Regions from separate parts of the Homo sapiens genome. Here all the other regions are linked to region 1. The links are contacts of gene promoters, found by promoter capture Hi-C in blood cells and fetal thymus (Javierre and others, 2016). All regions are on one chromosome and are shown on one strand. Each heading gives the region's core, a stretch centred on a gene start or on the middle of the fragment in contact. The rest is flanking DNA. Distances are from core to core; before and after follow the strand shown. Region 1 holds the start of MED9 (mediator complex subunit 9). Region 2 has its middle 61 kb from the start of NT5M. Region 3 has its middle 78 kb from the start of NT5M. Region 4 has its middle 76 kb from the start of MED9.

The links. The method cuts DNA at HindIII sites, captures the fragments that hold promoters and counts their contacts. A CHiCAGO score of 5 or more calls a contact.
Region 2: a fragment that was not itself captured here is called in contact with the fragment with the promoter of MED9 in region 1 in 7 of 17 cell types (M2 macrophages, endothelial precursors, fetal thymus and 4 more); the score reaches 8.2 in M2 macrophages.
Region 3: a contact is called between a fragment that was not itself captured here and the fragment with the promoter of MED9 in region 1, in 6 of 17 cell types (endothelial precursors, M2 macrophages, erythroblasts and 3 more). The highest score is 7.1, in endothelial precursors.
Region 4: a contact is called between a fragment that was not itself captured here and the fragment with the promoter of MED9 in region 1, in 3 of 17 cell types (fetal thymus, endothelial precursors and erythroblasts). The highest score is 6.7, in fetal thymus.

The regions. Positions count from the first base shown.
Region 1 is chr17:17,475,634-17,478,345 of GRCh38, forward strand. It overlaps MED9 (mediator complex subunit 9), which reads left to right and starts at 1,367. Exons shown (of 2, transcript NM_018019.3): 1 at 1,367-1,632. The coding sequence starts at 1,409. RefSeq lists an enhancer at 1,371-1,470. The HindIII fragment of the contact is 9,122 bases long and covers 136-2,712 here.
Region 2 is chr17:17,362,706-17,365,417 of GRCh38, forward strand. No RefSeq gene overlaps it. Among named protein-coding and RNA genes, the nearest start is that of NT5M, 61 kb to the left of the region's middle. The HindIII fragment of the contact is 5,308 bases long and covers 1-2,712 here.
Region 3 is chr17:17,379,955-17,382,666 of GRCh38, forward strand. No RefSeq gene overlaps it. Among named protein-coding and RNA genes, the nearest start is that of NT5M, 78 kb to the left of the region's middle. The HindIII fragment of the contact is 2,191 bases long and covers 291-2,481 here.
Region 4 is chr17:17,400,090-17,402,801 of GRCh38, forward strand. No RefSeq gene overlaps it. Among named protein-coding and RNA genes, the nearest start is that of MED9, 76 kb to the right of the region's middle. The HindIII fragment of the contact is 1,811 bases long and covers 470-2,280 here.

The DNA of each region.
Region 1 (2,712 bases), core at 117-2,616:
CTTAAGGCTCCTGTTCATCATGCTATGTGGATGTGGACCTCCTCGCCTCTCTGTACTGCCCATGATGGTGGATTACAGCAGAATGGGCTCACCAGTTGACAGCTTTCCCCACTCATGTCTTCTACTCACTAGCTAAGCTTGGGGTGGGTGTCCCCATTGCCCGGAAAATTACTACACAGCCCTCATATCAAACTTGTTTTGAGAAGCATAACCATAAACCCATCTTTGGCCTATGATCCTAGGGAGTCCTCATGCCAACAAGACCTTTTGGGGTCAGCCACGCATGTGAAGTTAGAATGCAGTTTAGGCTGTGCCATGAATCTGAACTAAATATGATTTTAGGGGTGAGGAAACTGGGACCTAGGGGCTTGGGGAACTGGCCCGAAGGTATGGAGAGTACCTGACCTTGTCGTTCTTCCAGGATATGATATTTACTCCTGGCACCAATCCCCTCTACCTTGTACTGAAAGCAAGGACAGCCTGCCTGCAACCACACATACAGGTGGCCATCCAGCAGGTGCATACTAAATGTGTGTTGAGTTGAATTATTAGACTCTTTCTAAGCAACCTTGCAGCATTGAAGGGACCGCAATCCCTTTGCCTCTGCGTCCTTAGGGCTAAACTCGAGGTCTCGATGTCTTGCACTGTGGGCTGGGCCGGGTTTGGTGCCTCACCCAGCAGGTAAGTGCTGTCTACGCCTCCCACAGGTCCAGTGGCTCCTCTCCAGACTTGGGTGCACTGGGCCAGGCTGCACCTTACTAATCTCAAGGCTTCCTGTGTTTGTGGCTTTGGGGCCCTCTTCATCGTGTGAATAGGAATAAGAAGATTGTTATTTCTGGCCGGGTGCAGTGGCTCACGCCTGTAATCCCAGCACTTTGGGAGGCCGAGACGGGCGGATCACCTGAGGTGGGGAGTTCGAGACCAGCCTGATCAACATGGAGAAACCCCGTCTCTACTAAAAATATAAAATTAGCCGGGCGTGGTGGTGCATGCCTGTAATCCCAGCTACTAGGGAGGCTGAGGCAGGAGAATCGCTTGAACCCGGGAGGCGGAGGTTGCGGTGAGCCGAGATCGCGCCACTGCACTCCAGCCTGGGCAACAAGAGCGAAATTCCGTCTCAAAAAAAAAAAAAAGATTGTTATTTCTGAAATAAACCCCTATTTCTCACTATTTAATAATTTAGCAATCTTGACTCACAATCCAAATCCAGGCACCCCAGACCCACCCACGGCCCGTTGCCTAGCAACAGCCTCCCCACCCCCGCCTCCGCGCCTTTTCCCGCCGACTGCCCAGTGCGCACGCTCAGAGCCTTCCTCCACACCCCGCCCCTGCAGGGCGCGCGGTGGTGACGTGTAGAGTGCGCGACGCTTTTGGCGACCCGACCTCTGGCTAACCTACCCCCGGAGCCATGGCCTCTGCTGGGGTGGCAGCCGGGCGACAGGCGGAGGATGTATTGCCGCCAACGTCCGACCAGCCGCTGCCTGACACCAAGCCGCTGCCGCCTCCTCAGCCGCCGCCGGTCCCTGCGCCTCAACCGCAGCAGTCGCCGGCGCCACGGCCTCAGTCACCTGCCCGCGCGAGGGAGGAAGAGAACTACTCCTTTTTACCTTTGGTTCACAACATCATCAAATGGTAAGAACCTAGGAGAGGACCAGGCCCCATACTCCCTCCAGCTTCTCCTCTCAGCCGTTTCAGAGCTGCAAGAGGCCTTGGCGCTCTGGGGCACGCCCCCGTTTCACAGATGGGGAAACTCAGACCCAGAGCGGGAAGAGGCCTTTCCCAAGACCACAGAGACATTCCATGAGTTAAGCAAACGATTTGAGCCTCGAGAGGTGCGATATCCTTAAGAATGAAGCCAGCTTAGAGACTAAATGCAGACTCTTGTCCAGCGGCTCAAATGTTCATCCCAGCGATCTTGAGCAAATTAAATCTCTTTAAGCCTCAGTTTTCTCACCTTTAATGTTGGTAATACTCACTTTAGTTCCTTAGTTCAGCAAACTCAACAGATAAGCATCATCTTCCCTGTGCCAAGTGCTACGGGATGGACGCAGTAAAAGGGGCCAACTTTTCACCCCCAAAGGTTTAGATAGAAGGAAAAAAAGACATGATTGGGAATAACCCACAATTCAAAAAGATTGAGACGGGAGTGGTGGCGATGGGAAACATTAGACTAAGCAGAAACACAGAAGTTGCCTCAGATGATTAGACCCACTTGTACTGACTTTGTTCTAACAGTACCAAAGGAAATAATTGTTGTCATCCTTTTGGCCAGCCTTCAGGGTAGCCTGAGTTTTCAAAGTGACTCTGTAGAGGAAAAACCAAAAACAAAAACACAAAAGTCTCACTGATCCTTATGTTTGCCTAAATTATTATTTTTTTTGAGAGAGGGTCTCGCTCTGTCACCCAGACTGGAGTACAGTGGCGTGATCTCGGCTCACTGCAGCCTCAACCTCCTGGCCTCAAGCCATCCTCCCACCTCATCCTCCCAAGTAACCGGAACCACAGGCATGAGCCATGGCACCCAGCGAATTTTTGTATTTTTTGTAGAGATGGAGTTTCACCATGTTGCCCAGGCTGTAAATTATTTTCATTATGTTACTTCACTGTATATCCACGTGATACTAGGTGTAAACCCCTAGGCTTGTAACTCTTACTCAACCATTAAAGACCAAAACAAAGTAAATTAAAAGAAAATTACGATTCCAGTAACAT
Region 2 (2,712 bases), core at 103-2,602, 110 kb before region 1:
CCTCCCCCAGGCCCTGCGCCACCCTGCTTATTCATAGGTTTACCTATTCTGGACATTGCGTATAAATGGAATCAGGTGCTCTGTGGGCTTGCGCGGCTGGCTTCTGCCACTTAGGATCATGGAGTCGAGGTTCATTCACCTGGTAGTATGTGCCTGGCCTTTCCTTTTAGTGGCTGAATAAGATTTCTTTTCTTTTCTTTTTTTTTTGACACGGAGTCTCACTCTGTCGCCCAGGCTGGAGTGCAGTGGCGCGATCTCGGCTCACTGCAACCCCCGCCTACCGGGTTCAAGCAATTCTTCTGCCTCAGCCTCCCAAGTAGGTGGGATTATAGGCACCTGCCACCACGCCCAGCTAATTTTTTGTATTTTTAGTAGAGACGGGGTTTCACCGGCCAGGCTGGGCTTGAATGCCTGACCTCAAGTGATCTACCCGCCATCACTGTGGCCCTGGGTCAGCTCCTAGCTGGCTCCTGCTCCCACCCTTGCCCCCTAGGGTCTGTTCTCCTCCAGCCTAAGGCAACTGTCCTCCCTCCTCTGCTCAAAACCCTCTCATGGCTCACACTTTACTAGGGCAGAAGCCCAAGTCCTCACCATGGTCCTCATCGTTTGTCCATTGGCACCGCCTCTTGGGCCTCCCTGCTCCCCTCCAAGCTCCTGTGCCTGTTCTTTCCTCTCCCAGACACTCTTCCTCCTGACCCTGTGTGCAAGCTCAGCCCTCTCATGGCATCTCTAAGTCTCAGGTCTCTCAAAGAGCCTCTTCTGCTTAAACTTGGACTGTCCTCTCCTGAGCCCTTCCTTGTTGACTCACTCGTTGCCACCTCCTAAGGAAGGGAGGAAGATTTAAATGGGACATGAAGGAGCAGTAGGAATCAGCTAGCCCGGGGAGGTGGTGGTGATGGGGAAGAGGGGGGTTGGGCGTGACAACCCAGGGCAGGAGGGAGGTGGCCTTGGAGGGAGTGAGCAGGTCCATGAGGCTGTGCAAGCAGCCAGGGGCGGGGCAGGTGAGAGAGCAGGCAAGGTGGCAGGGGCTCTGTTGGCCTCGCCTGTCTCCGCCTGGCCCTCCCCTGTGGCTTCATCTTGTTATGGCATCTTGGGTCATCAGCCTCCTGCCACAGTGATGCACACACCCTGTTCCCCTGTTCCTGGGTGATTATAAACACCCTCAAGGTGACAGCCCGCCCTTCTCAGCCTCGTCTGCACCCTACAGAGTGAGCACCTGCAGGATGGGTAAATAAACAGCTGTGAGAACCAACCAGCCAATCTCACAACGAGGGGAAACCCAGGGTTAGGCAAGGTCAAGGACCCTGTAGCCCTTTTGTAGCCTTGAACTCCAGGGAGGGGTAGGGCAGCCGCTTGGTTGGGGCAAAGTGTGTATTTGAAGGAGCCAAGCAGCAGGAAGAAAGAGAAAGTAGTTCTCTATGGCTCTCCTGGGAAGTGAAGCACTTTGAAAACTTGGAGGGCTTCCTGGAAGAGGCAAACCCAAGGTAGCTGGCCCATCTCACCTCACTGGGGAAATTCTGACCCATTTCTTCCAGATCCCAGAGACTCGGCCTAGGTCCTGCTGGGCCTGGACACTGTACCCTGCTTCTCTTCAGGCAGGGCCTCCCTTCCCCAGATTCCCAGGCCTGGAGGAAGCCACAGGAAGTGGAACGAGGCGCCGGCTCTGTGTCTGCTTGGGGACATGGGTTAATTAATCAGGCTTTGCCCTTTCGTGGTGCTCTTGTACCCTGGAGCTGAATATTCAGGCTGGCTCCCTGACTTAGCTCCTGCCTGCGTCTGACTGGCTCTATTTTTAAAGCCCAGAGGACAGCTGACGAAAACGTTTAAAAAGAAACCAAATGTTTAACATGTAAAAGCCTGGTGCCTCTGTTTTGTTCGGAAAGCAGGATGACATGCGTTTTGTCCCCATCCCCGGGAGGGTGCAGCGTTTTGCAGCAAGGTCAGGGTCCCAGGAAACCCAAGTCAGGCCCCAGCTTTGCCACTTACCTCTGTGTGAACTTTGCCAGCCTCCTTCTCCTCCTGTGCCTCCGTTTCCACTATGTGAAAAGAGAAGTTGGGATGAGTTGGATTCCCCTCATTAGACTTTGGGTGATTCAAGAGCCGTTTTTCTGCAGGGAATGGGTGTGGTGGGGGCAGGCTCCCTCCTCTGTTCCCCACCTGCTCCTTCTCATTTCATCTGGCTAATTCCCCTGGAAAGCTCCACTTTCTAACTAGGAGGAAGGGTCTCCTGCAAGCCCTTCGCAAGGTGTTGGGGAGGTCTTGGGAACAGAAGTTGGCAGCCCTTGTCTTTAATCTGCAGCTCACATTCAGGGTCACCTGTGCCAGGCATCAGTTTTAACATATTTTATTTTATTTTATTTATTGTTTTTTGAGATGGAGTTTCGCTCTTGTTGCCCAGGCTGGAGTGCAATGGTGCGATCTTGGCTCACTGCGACCTCCACCTCCCAGGTTCAAGCAATTCTCCTGCCTCAGCCTCCTGAGTAGCTAGGATTACAGTCATGCACCACCACGCCTGGCTAATTTTGTATTTTTAGTAGAGACGGGGTTTCTCCATGTTGAGGCTGGTCTCGAACTCCTGACCTCAGGTGATCTGCCCGCCTCGGCCTCCCAAAGTGCTGGGATTACAGGCGTGAGCCACCGCGCCTGGCCTTAACATCTTTTAAAAGGGGGAGTGGCAGTGCCCTCCTGGCTCACCTCACACAGCTGTAGCAG
Region 3 (2,712 bases), core at 136-2,635, 96 kb before region 1:
CATGGGGTTGTTTCTGGGACTTACAGTCAGAGCTCCTGGATGTGCATCTTGGCTCCATTCCTTCCTGGGGGACCTTGGGCAGCACACGTAAGCCTCAGCCTCAGTTTCTCCAGTAGACAAATGATGAGTCTATTAAGGGCTGTGTATTGAGGACAGAATGAGAATGAAGAAAGCCAGAGGGGCCTGAGAGAGGTGATCAGGAGGAGGAAGGCGGGGAGAGAAAGAGGGAGGGAGAGCGAACCTGAGTGCCTGCCCCACCCGACTCCCGACCTCCGTGAGTAGAGGGCTGAAGCTTTCCCCTCCTCCCACAGCCATTTACCCAGCTCTGGGGGTAATTGCTATAATTTCAAGGCTGGGTAATGCCAGCAGATTAGAGAGGGAAAGGCTCCCTCGGGTTCAGCCGGCACATTAGGCACAGTTATAAATGTCAGCGCTGATGGCTCGTCAAGAGCCCCAGGATGGGGGCACAAGCTCCCCACTGTCCTCAGGCCCAGCCCTTCCCCCTCCTCTGGGCTAGAACCCGAGTGTAAGGTACTGCACTCCCCACAGCTCACCCTCCACCATCAGCCCCCTCCTGTTCACCTCTGCTCAGTGTTCAGACCCTGCTTCTGCTGCCTGGTGTGCACCCTTGGGCAAGGCTCTGAGCCTCAACTGCAAAATGGGCAGCAACAACAGCACATGCTCCATCAGCCGCCCTCGGCACTGTGGGCCCTGGTCATCCTCCCAGCGATACTGAGGGAGATGCTCTGGGACCCCATTCGTCAGGAGGTGAAGAGAGATGAGGCCCCAGCCTGCGCCTCCATTTCCCCATCTGCAAAATGTGGAGGTTGGGTAAGAAGAGGAGACCCCTGAGTGCGCTTCCAGCCTTCACGGTCTCTGCTTCTGTCCTGAGGGTTGTGTGGCAGAAACCCTGGGCGTCAGGCAGGACAGGGGGAGGCAGTGGGGAGAGAGGTTGAAAGAAGGCTTCCCCACAGTGGGCTGCTCTGCCTCCACCGGCCTCCTGAGGCTGCCAGGAGTGTTTTTCTCCCGTGGGGAAAGCCTGTGGGGTCCCTTCCTCAGGGCCTTTGCCAAGCTCAAAGGAGGTGCCATTAGTCTCTTGGGGAGCTCTAAGGGTCTGAGTCTCTAGAGCACATGCAGGGGTCCCCTATGCGTGTGAGAAAAGGCTTTGGGTCCCTAGGGAGGAGACCAGGCATGGGACAACCTGTCCTTCCCACCTTTCTTCCCCTCCCTTCCCTATTCCCAGCGCTATATCATGAACATTTGCAGACATGAGAAAAGCTGAAAGGATAATACAGAGAACACCTTTGCAGCCACCACCTACAACTGTACCGTCTGCCCCCTGCCCCTCTGCCCCTTCATCTGTCCATCAAATTTTTGATGTATTGCAAAATAAGTTGCAGATGGACACCGCACCCCGAGACAGGCTAGCATGCACGTCACTCACTGGAGTTCAGTATTTGTTAACTGTTTTTTTTTTAGGGTGAAATTTATACATAATGAAATGGACAAATTTTAAGGGTAGCAATCAATGCATCTTGACAAATGCACACACATGTGAGGCTCAAGCTCTTCAAGACAGAGGGTGTCACCGTTGCCTGGAAAGTTCACCCTTGCTCCTTCCAGTCCCTAGAAACAGCTGCTGTCTTTTTTTTTTCCAACATCGCTTGGCTTTGCCTGTTCTAGACATTCATGTAAATAGAGCCATACAGTATGTTTTTTTGTTTTTGTTTTTGGCGGGGGAGGGGGCGTGGTTTCTTTTGCTAAGCATGTTTATTTTGAGATTCATCCATGTTTTCTTGGGTATTGGTAGTCCATTCCTTTTTATTGCAAAGTAGTAAGCCACTGCATGAATAGAGCCTGCTCATTTACCCGTGGATCTGTTGACCCTTTGAGTTGTTCCCAGTTTGAGGCTGTTATGAATAAAACTGTTGTGAACATTTGTGTGTGAGTCTTTGTGTGGACATGTTTGCATTTCTCTTGCATAAATGCCTAGAAGTAGAATTACTGGGCTTCCTCCTTTTATGGGATTAAAAAAGAAAAAGAAAGAATGAAAGAGAGACACAGAGACGGAAAGAAAAGAGAGAAGAAGAAAGTAAAGGAAAAGCAAAAAGCATAGGTAACTAGATTGCAGAAACTTTGAACAATAACCATCATCGCTCCAAAGAAACTGCCACCCCAGGAGTTCTCGACAGGCTATGGAGGAAGGCTTGGCATTGAGACAGACTTAGTGCAAATCTTGCTTTGCCACTTGTAAACTGTGTGACCCTAGGGAAGTTTCTTAACCTCTCTGAGCTTTAGTTCTTCCTCTGTAAACTGAGAACAATGAGATCAGCCAGTTTACAGTTGTTAGGGGGAATTCCCCAAGAGGAAGGCTGTAGAAGCCCTGGCCAGAACTTGGTCTGCAGTGGATCATGGCTAACATGAGCCCCTCTCCCTACCTATTTGTCTTGCAAGGTCCAAGGTCTGATGTCGTCTCAGTGAAGCTTTTCCTGAAAATCTAGTTAAAAATGAAAAGTGCCAACACTCACAGGAGACTTTCCATGAACCGGCATGTCTCTGAGTGCTCTGCAAGTATTAGCTCATTTAATTCTTTCAACAAGCCCCCAAAATAGCTTTATTATCAGCATATCTATTTTGTAGGCACAGAGAGATTCAATGATTTGCCTAAAGTCACACAGCAAGTTAAGTGATGAAGCTTGGTATGGCTGATCT
Region 4 (2,712 bases), core at 125-2,624, 76 kb before region 1:
GCTGTAGCACCCAGGGATGAGGATGAAGCATTTTTATTCTTCCCACTGTAAGACGAAGTAGCATGCGTAAGAAGCCACGTTGGCTCATTTCTGCTTGAACCCCTGACTCTGTGACAACGTGCAGCTCTCTGGAAAGATGCTTTGAAGGCAAAGCAGGATGAAGCGCCCGGCCCCGCACGTCTCTTGCCTGAGTCACTTGATTCCTTAAAAGAGAAGAGCTCTAGTCCTTGCCTTTCTGACAGGCTTAATGACGATGCCTCTGCCATCTATAACCAGAGGTGCTCTTACACCCACACCTTGATGGGCTGCTGCTTCAACGTAACTTCTGAGCAAGTCCGATGTGATTTTGCACTTGCTGAACCTCCACCACCTGTATGTAAGCCGTGGGCTTCAACAGAACTGCCCTGAGGCAGTAGATGTGGTCTGGAGTCCTCAGACTCCTGAATGAAATGAACTTTAGTTCTTCGAAAGCTTGATTTTGTTTTCGTTGTCAACACTGGGAAATTGGGCTTAGAGGGGCTTCCAGGGGCCTCTTTGCCCTCCAGCTTTCCTTGCCTCCTCTTGTCTCCTGATTTGCTCTTATGTTTCTCTACCTTCCAGGAACCCGAGTTGCTAAGCTCCTAGCTCCAGCCTGTCCCACCAGCGGGGGCTCCAAGGGGCTCAGGCTTCCCAGAGTCCAGTGCCCACATAGCAGACAAACCCACATCGTGTGCCCGAGTCTCCTGGCCTGGTTTAGGCATGTGATTACACTCATGGGGTCTGTGTCTCTTGCTCGGATTTAACCACATACCCTCCCAACCCGCCAACTAGGTTTCAATGCAAGGGAAGGCCAGATCCCTGTATGTCATGTCTAACCCACACACCCACGTGAGCGCATGTCTGTGCACATGGAGCGTGTGTCTGGGGTCCCGATGGCAGTGTTTACACAGGAACCTCTGTCCAGTGAGCAGGCACACACGCACGTCCTGGGCATCTGGTGCTAGAACTCTCAGGAGTGAGAATGGGGTAAGGGGCAGAGAGTCCTTTACAGTGGGCCACCAGGGCACCCCCACTGGCGGCATGGACCCACCCCCTCAGGGGGCATAGAAAATATCTGGAGCCTAGGTTGAGGGTATGAACGTCCCCAGGGAGAAGGAAGGTCATCAGTGAATGTAGAGTGGGCAGAGTTGCCCCTTCCAGGGGAGTGAGCAAGGGGCACATCCCGTCAGTGCTGGGTCCACCGAGGGCTTGGGGGCTGCCATTAGCCCATGTGGTGCGTTGTGTGAAGGAAGAAAGCGCCCTCTAATGGTGGCTGCAGTCCCAAGGGTTGCAGGGCTTGGCTAGCGGAGCATGGACTGAATGTCAATGAGCACTGCGCCTTTGGCAGGATGCCCTTGGGCAGTGCACAGCCTGTACCGCTGTACAGGGCATCCGTGGGGGAGGCGGGACTTGTGGAGACACATCAGACCAAGGTCAGCTCCAGTGTGAATGGGGGAAGTGAGGGAACCCGAGGGCAGCAAGAGGTGGAGAGGCATCCAAGAAAGGCCCAGAGGATATGTAGGCTGGGTCCCCACCAGCAGTCACGTGAGTGCCTGGCAAGACCATGAGTCAACATCCCAGCACTTGGGGTGGAGTGAGGTCCACACACTCACTCCTCTGGTGCCACCACAGCTCAGGGGGCCTCTTGTCTGCACGCTGAGCCAGGACTGGCCACGATGGAGGGGGCCAAAGAACAAGAGAGCCCTGCTCTCTAGTTAAAGAGAAAATATGCACCCACACGGAACATGTTTAAAAATGTTCTTCACAAGTTAAACCTAGAGTCACCATATGGCCCAGCAATTCCACTCCGAGGTGTCTACACAAAAGAATTGAAAACAGGTGGCCGGGCATGGTGGCTCACGCCTGTAATCCCAGCACTTTGGGAGGCCGAGGCAGGCAGATCACGAGGTCAGGAGATCGAGACCATCCTGGCTAACACGGTGAAACCCCGTCTCTACTAAAAATACAAAAAATTAGCTGGGCGTGGTGGCAGGCGCCTGTAGTCCCAGCTACTCAGGAGGCTGAGGCAGGAGAATGGCGTGAACCCAGGAGGTGGAGCTTGCAGTGAGCCGAGATCGCGCCACTGCACTCCAGCCTGGGCAACAGAGAAAGACTCCATCTCAAAAAAAAAAAGAAAACATGTATTTGAACAAAAACTTATACATAAGTGTTTACAGCAGCAGTATTCATAACAGCCAAAAGGTGAAAGCAGCCCAATTGTGCATCCACAGATGAGTGGTAACAACTGCAGATGTGGATCCAAGCTTGGACACTTCTTACCTTCCAGACCCTGGACAAGTTCTGCAGCCTCTCGGACCCTCAGTCTCTTCATCTAAAAAATGCAAACGACAGTGCCCAGTTCTTGGGTGGTTGGGAAAACTAAGCCTACATACATAAGGTGTCAGATGCCCTGTAGGTCCTCACGGAGGTACGATATACCTGTACGATGGGATATTATTCAGCCACAAAAAGGTACAAGACAAGTGGACCTTGAAAACACTATGCAGAGGGAGGATGGCAGTCACAAGAAATCACATACAATTCCACTTATATGAAATATCCAGAATAGGTAAACCAACAGAGACAGGAAGCAGACTGCTGGGTGCCTGGGGCCGGAGGAAGGGAGGAGTGGGGAGTGACAGCTCATGGGAATGGAGTTCCTGTCAGGGGATGAAAGTGCTCGGGAGCTAGATA